Regions from separate parts of the Homo sapiens genome. Here region 1 is linked to region 2. Evidence: promoter capture Hi-C in 16 types of primary human blood cells and fetal thymus (Javierre and others, 2016). All regions are on one chromosome and are shown on one strand. Each heading gives the region's core, a stretch centred on a gene start or on the middle of the fragment in contact. The rest is flanking DNA. Distances are from core to core; before and after follow the strand shown.

Region 1 (4,053 bases), core at 439-2,938, 530 kb before region 2:
AAAATAGAAGACGTCCCTCCCTATTGCACATGGACCCTATATACAGGCCCACCTGGCTGAGGCTGGCGGGACTCTTGGCACATTCTTGGATCCCTGCTCAGGAGGGGAGGGGTGACGGGGTGGCATCACACGTGAGATGGGGACCTCCAGGCGGCCACTCTGGTCCTGGCTACTGATCCTTGCACTTCTTGGTCCTCAGTTCCTTCCTGGTCCCGTCTCTGGCCCTGGTCCCCTCTGGCAACGTCCCCCTGCTTGGCTCGGCCTCCCACCTCCATCCTGGCCTCGGGTGGCCCCCTCGGCTCCTGGGGACTCTGCTCCCCTCCCAGTCCGGAGGTCCCAGGGGGGCTATGGCTTCTCTGAGACTTCCCCCGGAGCCCTGTCACTCGTGTTCACACGGGGGAAGGGGTGCGTGTGGCAGAAGCAGCTGTATAAATACGGGTGCGGGAAAGTCCCTCCGGGTCACTTGGAGAGTTTGCTGATGACGCGGATCAACGCTGCATTCTCATCCTTGAGGCGCTGGTTGTCAGCGCGGAGGTCAGACAGGGCCTGGGGGACGGCAAGGGTCAGCTGGGCAGCCCTGGCGGGTTGCACCCCCACCCACCCTCGGCCCTCTGCCCACAGCCCCCACAGCCCCCACCTTCAGCTCCTCCTCCAGCTCTGCGGCCTTGCGTTCCAGGGCCCTGCGCTCCTGGAATGAACAGGGAAAGTGCAGAAACTGAGTGAGGCTGAGGAGGGCAGGGGAAGGCCAGGGGCCAGCTGGGAAGGGCAATGTGGCTCCCTTGGTCCAAACTTAGGGATGTGAGGCTGGGGACGCCTCTGGCCCCCATCCCCACTGCCCCTACTCACGAATCTCTCCAGTTCCAGGAGGGCTGGCCTCTCAGCGAAGCGTTCTTGCCTCTGGTGAGGACACAGAAAGCACAGGGGTCAGCAGAAGAAGCCAGCACTGCTCTGAAGGGTCCTAGGCTCCTGCTGGGCACCCGCCCGCCCACTAGGCAGCCCACAAGCCCTTCCCCCACGGGCCAGGCCCCGCCACCGGCAGGCCCACAGCCCCATCCCCTCGCTCAGACTCCGCCTCCGAGATCTCGGCCCCGCCCCTCAAGTGAAGCCCAGCCCCGCCGGCACCCCCAGGCCAGGCTCTACCTCCCAGCAGTCTAAGCCCCACCCAGGCGGCCCTGCCAGTTCCCGTGACCCTGGCCTCGGCGCCCTTACCTGCGTGGCCCGCTCCAGCTCCACCTTGAGCTGCGCCAGCCGCAGCGTGGTCTCGGTCAGGGCCTCGCGAAGCCGCTCGTTCTCCCTGCGCAGCTCTGCATACAGCTGGGGGTCAGGTAGAGGAGGGTCAGGTGGAGGATGGGGCGATGCTGGGGGGGCGGGGAAGCCAGGAAGCTGGGCACCCAGCAGGCAAAGCCCCGACGGAGGGGTGGGATCGCACCGTCCTAAAGCCTCCGTCTGGCTCTTCCGATTCTGGCTCAGGTTCTGGGTTGAGGTCCCGCTGCCACCGCTGCCTGCGGGCCGAGGGGCCGCCCTCCAGGGTGCTGGGGCAGGGGAGGAGCGCGCGTCAGGGGCCGGCCCGGCCCGCACGCAGACCCCACCTCTCCCACCCCGCCCCTACCTGGACTCCTGGCTGCGGTCAGCCGGCTCCGCCTCCTCCCCCTGTGGGCAGGTAGACGGGGGTTCAATGGGTATGGGAGGGACTTTAGCGGGTATGGGAAGGGCTTTGCCCGCCCCCCGGCCCACCCTCTGCACCAGCTCGGCCCCACCTGAGCCCCTCACCTCCGCAGGCCCCCTCCACTCCTTTCCGACCTTGCGGTGCTCCCTGGCCGCCTGCGGTCCCGGACCCTGCCCGTCGGGCGCCTCTGCTGGGGGAGGGGCAGGAATCAGCCCAGGCACCTCCAGAGCCCCCTCTCGGTGCCTGGGTCCCCGGGTCAAGCCCCCAGGAAAGCAAGAAGACTATGGGAGAAACTGGATGATTCCCTGGGAATGACCTCCCCGAGAGCAGACCTCACCTCTCTGGGCAGGGCTGTCAGAGTTCTCCACTCCAGGGACGCGGGGCCTTCGGGAAGGGTCCTGTCGGGAGGGGGAGGCGAGTCAGGGAAGCAGGACATCCCGCACCACCCCACTCGCCCTCGCTGACCCCTCTCACCAGGCTCTGCGCCGGCTTCTCTGACTCTGGGGCCTTCCCTGCAGCCTTCTCTGCCTCCTTCAGGTCTGTAAGAGTCACACCCTGGCAGGGAAAGGGGACAGTCAGGGGACGCTGGGGTCAGGGCCCAGCCCCTCCTCCCTCAGACCCAGGAGCCCAGGCCCCAGCCCCTCCTCCCTCAGACCCAGGAGCCCAGACCCCAGCCCCTCCTCCCTCAGACCCAGGAGTCCAGACCTCCAGCCCCTCCTCCCTCAGACCCAGGAGTCCAGGCCCCAGCCCCTCCTCCCTCAGACCCAGGAGTCCAGACCTCCAGCCCCTCCTCCCTCAGACCCAGGAGTCCAGGCCCCAGCCCCTCCTCCCTCAGACCCAGGAGTCCAGACCTCCAGCCCCTCCTCCCTCAGACCCAGGAGCCCAGGCCCCAGCCCCTCCTCCCTCAGACCCAGGAGTCCAGACCTCCAGCCCCTCCTCCCTCAGACCCAGGAGCCCAGACCCCAGCCCCTCCTCCCTCAGACCCAGGAGCCCAGGCCCCAGCCCCTCCTCCCTCAGACCCAGGAGCCCAGACCCCAGCCCCTCCTCCCTCAGACCCAGGAGCCCAGGCCCCAGCCCCTCCTCCCTCAGACCCAGGAGCCCAGACCCCAGCCCCTCCTCCCTCAGACCCAGGAGTCCAGGCCCCAGCCCCTCCTCCCTCAGACCCAGGAGTCCAGACCTCCAGCCCCTCCTCCCTCAGACCCAGGAGCCCAGACCCCAGCCCCTCCTCCCTCAGACCCAGGAGTCCAGGCCCCAGCCCCTCCTCCCTCAGACCCAGGAGCCCAGGCCCCAGCCCCTCCTCCCTCAGACCCAGGAGTCCAGGCCCCAGCCCCTCCTCCCTCAGACCCAGGAGTCCAGACCTCCAGCCCCTCCTCCCTCAGACCCAGGAGTCCAGGCCCCAGCCCCTCCTCCCTCAGACCCAGGAGCCCAGGCCCCAGCCCCTCCTCCCTCAGACCCAGGAGTCCAGGCCCCAGCCCCTCCTCCCTCAGACCCAGGAGTCCAGACCTCCAGCCCCTCCTCCCTCAGACCCAGGAGTCCAGGCCCCAGCCCCTCCTCCCTCAGACCCAGGAATCCAGGCCCCCAGCCCCTCCTCCCTCAGACCCAGGAGTCCAGGCCCCAGCCCCTCCTCCCTCAGACCCAGGAGTCCAGACCCCAGCCCACCCCACACCTGTGTGGACCTCCGAGACTGGCGCATGAGACGGGAGCGAGCTTTTCTCTGGGATTCCGACTCCTCATCCCGCACAGGCATCTGGTAGGACCTGAGGGAAGGGTCCCAACCTCAGACAGGGAACCTGGGGACCCTGTCCCATTCCGTGGCTGACACCCTCCGCGGGAAGCAAGTTCTGTGGGAGGGGACTCCAACTCCCAGCAGACCTGAGGCCAGCTCTCCCTCAGGAGCCCACCCAAAGCCCCGGGACTCCTGCTTCACATCGTCTCTCCCTGCTGGGGGCGGGGGCGGCAGCTTCCTGCCCTGGCCTCTTCACCTCCGTCGGTCCCGGGAGTCCGCTGGGGGCGCCGTGGAGGCTGTGGGGACGTTTGGCTTCGCTGGGGATTCAGGCTCCGGAATCCTGGAGGGAGGCGAGGAGTTCTCCAAGCAAGGAGGAGGCTTGGTGACCTCAGACCTGCATCAATTCATTCATTCCACAAACATTACCCAGGTGCATTGTGTGCCGGCACTGGAGATGCAGCCGTGAGTGAAAGAAACAAATTATCTGGGCCACAACAGAGTCAGAGCTGAGCAGAAATACACAAAACCCACAAAAGCCATGAAAAGACCAGCACACTACGCAACCGGTCAGAAGGATAAAGGACTCTGGACAGAAGCAGCAGTGCGAGAACTGAGAGCGGGAGGGTGTGCGTGTGCGGACGGCGCCGTGGTGGCAGCAGGG
Region 2 (4,069 bases), core at 509-3,008:
AAGCGATCCTCCCACTTCATCTCCCTGAGTAGCTGGGATTACAGGCATGCACCACCACATCCAGCTAGTTAAAAAAAAATTATTTCTGGCTGGGCACGGTGGCTCAGGCCTGTAATACCAGCACATTGGGAGGCTGAGGTAGGCAGATCACCTGAGGTCAGGAGTTCGAAACCAGCCTGGCCAACATGGCAAATACCGTTTCTACTAAAAATGCAAAAATTAGCCAGGTGTTGTGGCTGCTGCCTGTAATCCCAGCTACTCGGGAGACTAAGACACGAGAATCGCTTGAACCCAGGAGGTGGAGGTTGCAGTGAGATGTGATCATGCCACTGCCCTCCAGCTCAGGCGACAGAACAAGACTCCATCTTAGACAGCAAAACAAACAAAAATTATTATTATTATTTTTAATGTAGAGGGAGTCCCACTATGTTGCCCAGGCTGGTCTCCAACTACTGGGCTCAAGAGATCCTTCTGGCTCTGCCTCCTAAAGTGCTGGGATTGCAGGCGTGAGCCGCCGCGCCCGGCCCATCCTCCAGGATTCTGTTGTATCCTCATCAACATTTCCTCTCCTGTCCAAAATATATCATGGATCCCACCTTTTGTCCTCCACCCTAGTTAAAGCCCCATCACTTGGCGCCTCCAAAATTGAAAAACCCAAGGGCATCTCTGTTCCTATTTCTGCTGGCTTGTAACCCACCTCCCAGGAATAGCCTGAAGGTCTTTTGAAAATGTAAATCAGATCAAGTCATTTTTCGCACTCAAAACCCTCCAGTGGCTCCAAATGACTTATCCCAAATCGTCACTATAATATCTGTGGCGATGTAGCTCCACTTATCTCTCTGACCCCAGCTTAAACATAAGCCGGCACCCAGCTGACTTCTCTCGTCTAAATTTAGCTGCCCCACCCCTACTCTTGGCTCAATTTATAGAAATTGGCTCAATTTTTATTTCCTTTATAGAACATATCACAGTAACTCTCCTTTATTGTCTCTCTCCTCTCAAGAGACTGCAGGCTCCAAAAGAACACAACCCTTGTCTGTCTTGGTCACTTCTCTATTTACAGAGCCGAAGTAGGAGCTCAGTAAATGTTTGTTGAATGAATGAATGTCCTCAATTAGTCTAATTCTGAGTGGGGTAACGTGGAGGAAGTTCCAAAGTCACCTAGACCACCCACTTCTACCCCCAAATTCTCCCTTGGGCATTCGAGAAGCATCACTAAGACCCTTGAAGAATTATCCCCTACCCCGACATAGGTGCTCCAATCATAATCCCCCACGTTTTTCAGGGTCACCTTCCCAACCTTCTACCCTAGAATTAGCCCTAGAATTTATGAGGCCCCGCCCCTTACAAGGCTCCACCCAAATTATGCAAATTATCCCTGGTAAGCCCCCTTCCCTGGACCCAAACCCGTCCCACAAGACAACACCGTCCTCAGACTCCGCCCCCATCCAGGCCCCGCCCACCACCCATAGGTCCCTCCCCCACCCCGCCCACCATGACATAGTCTCCTCCCCTGCCCCGCCCCTCGCGAAACCACAAGAAGCCCCACCCCCAGGGCCATAGCACTAAATACCTCCCTCGCCCACCCCCTCATAGGCCACGCCCCGGACCCGCCCCCCACACTACGACCTCCTCCCACCTCGAGCCCCACGCCCAGGCCCCTTCCTTGCCCGCACCAGGTCCAGTGGCTCCTGGGATCGCGACTCCGGAGTCGGTGAGCTCCGACTCTGGGCCTCTGGGCGCGCAGCGGCCATCTTGTGCCCAAGCCCCGCCCCCAAGGCCAATGTTCGCTCTGAAAGGGGGTGGGGCTCGAACTGGCGTAAGAGCTACTGCGCAGGCGCAGTGCGGGGCTGCGAGGGGGCGTGGTGCAGCAGGGGGCGTGGCGGGGCGGGGCGTGGCGGCTGAGCCCGGGAGAATGTGAGTTGTTCCCTCTCTAATTACCTGTCTGTCCCTCCGAGGGTACGCTCTGTGTGGCGCTAGGATGCCTGTAACACCCTGGGAACAAATCCGAACGTTCCTTCTAAACCAACGCAGGCCGACTCGAGGCTCTGGCTGTCAGGGGAACCTCAGCAGAACTGAAGAAGCTTTGCTTTGTTTCCACGGTAAACGTTTTTGTGATTACCTCTGCACTGCTCATGACAACGTAATGACGCCAAGTTTATAAACGTCGGTGTAGGCCGGGTGCGGTGGCTCATGCCTGTATTCTCAGCTACTCGGGAGGCTGAGGTGGGAGGATCGCTTGAGGCCGGGAGGTCGAGGCTGCAGTGAGCCATGATCTCGCCACTGCATGCAGCCTGAGTGACAGAGACTCTGTCAAAAAAAAAAAAAAAAAAGGCAGTGTGGAGAAAAATATTCAGTAAACAGCAACACAGGTGGTCCTGGGAGGACGCAAAAACCCGCAAGCTGATGTTATGTTTGGGAGGAAAGAGCTCAAAAACGCGGGGTTTTCAGCAGCATCAAGGACGGGGCTCTTCTTAGCTGCCCCGTTTAGTCATTCTGGTGGTATCACCTTGGATAAGTCACTACACTTCTCTGGACCATTTCTCTTTCTTTTGTGTAGCACTGTAGAAGCATTGTGACAAACCACTGAGAAGAGACATGGAAGAGTTTGGAAACATCTTTAAATAGTTTTCTTGAAAGGGCAGGATAGGAGATACTTAAACATGATCCTAAGCATGATCATTTCATTCATAAATATATATGAAATTATATTTTGTGATATGTTGGTATAAAATAAAGATAAACACCACTTAGGCTGAATTATCTCCTCCTCCTCCTTTCTTCTTCTTTTATAGAGATGGGGATCTTGCTGTCTTGCCTTGCCCAGGCTGGTCTTGAACTCCTAGCCTTAAGCGATCCTTCTGCCTTGGTCTTCCAAAGCTATATTTCCCTTCTTTTCTTTTGATTTTAAAATAATTTTTTTTTTTTTGAGATGGAGTCTCACTCTGTCGCCCAGGCTGGAGTGCAGTGGCATGATCATGGCTCACTGCAACCTCTGCCTCCCGGGCTCAAGCGATTCTCCTGCCTCAGCCTCTTGAGTAGCTGGGATTACAGGTGCCCGCCACCATGCCCGGCTAATTTTTGTATTTTTAGTATATACAGGGTCTCACCATGTTGGCCAGGCTGGTCTCGAACTCCTGACCTCAGGTGATCCGCCCACCTCGGCCTCCCAAAGTGCTGGGATTACAGGTGTGAGCCACTGCGCCCGGCCTAAAATAAATTTTTAAATGTTGTGGGTCCCTAAGAGTATCATGGGCCCTAGGCACTGTATCTACTACTGTGTCTAATGCTTAAGTCAGCTCTTTCTGTCCAGGTTTCCTAATTTGCAAAATGAGGGTGATAATAAAACCTACTTTACACAGTTGCTATGATGATTAAAGAAGTCATTATATATAAAGTATTTTGGACAATGTATGGCACACAGCAGGTGCTATGAGTTAGCTATAATAATTACTACCATTTGGCACTCCCACTAGCAATAAATAGGGACCTTTGTTGCTTAACATTCCTATCAATATCTGATACTCAAACTTTAAAATGTTCGCTAATCTCTTGGGTGTGAAATAATTTCATTTCTTTTCTTTTTTTTGAGAAACAGCCCAGGCTGGAGTGCAGTGGCGTGATCTCAGCTCACTGCAACCTCCACCTCCTTGGTTCAAACAAATTTCCTGCCTCAGCTTCCCAAGTAGCTGGGACTACAGGTGTGACACGTCATTACGTTATCGCAAGTGGTGCAGAGGTAACCACAAAAACCTTTACTGTGGAAACAAAGCAAAGCCTCTTCAGTTCCGCTGAGGTCTTCCACTGACTGCTAGAGCCTCGAGTCGGCCTGCGTTGGTTTAGAAGGAACGTTCGGATTTGTTCCCAGGGTGTTACAGCCCAGCTGATTTTTGTATTTTTGTTTTGTTTTGTTTTTTGTTTTTAGTAGAGACAGGGTTTCACCATATGTTGGCCAGGCAGGTCTCAAACTCCTGACCTCAGCTGATCGGCCCGCCTCGGCCTCCCAAAGTGCTGGGATTACAGGCATGAGCCACTGCGCCTGGTCTATTTCTTATTGAGAAGCTCTTTA

The links. Contacts are between HindIII fragments. The CHiCAGO score rates a contact against its expected background, and 5 or more counts as called.
Region 1: a contact is called between a fragment that was not itself captured here and the fragment with the promoter of ZNF784 in region 2, in 1 of 17 cell types (fetal thymus). The highest score is 6.0, in fetal thymus.

What each region holds. Positions count from the first base shown.
Region 1 is chr19:55,091,013-55,095,065 of GRCh38, forward strand. PPP1R12C (protein phosphatase 1 regulatory subunit 12C) reads right to left here. Exons shown (of 22, transcript NM_017607.4): 12 at 3,649-3,786; 13 at 3,333-3,423; 14 at 2,141-2,221; 15 at 2,004-2,064; 16 at 1,771-1,856; 17 at 1,610-1,650; 18 at 1,430-1,532; 19 at 1,210-1,314; 20 at 847-897; 21 at 638-688; 22 at 1-546. The coding sequence ends at 460. Among named protein-coding and RNA genes, the nearest start is that of EPS8L1, 17 kb to the left of the region's middle. The HindIII fragment of the contact is 7,228 bases long and covers 1-4,053 here.
Region 2 is chr19:55,622,808-55,626,876 of GRCh38, forward strand. ZNF784 (zinc finger protein 784) reads right to left here and starts at 1,759. Exons shown (of 2, transcript NM_203374.2): 1 at 1,677-1,759. The coding sequence starts at 1,754. RefSeq lists enhancers at 1,740-2,239, 1,990-2,139 and silencers at 1,740-1,789, 1,860-1,919. The HindIII fragment of the contact is 2,172 bases long and covers 1-2,082 here.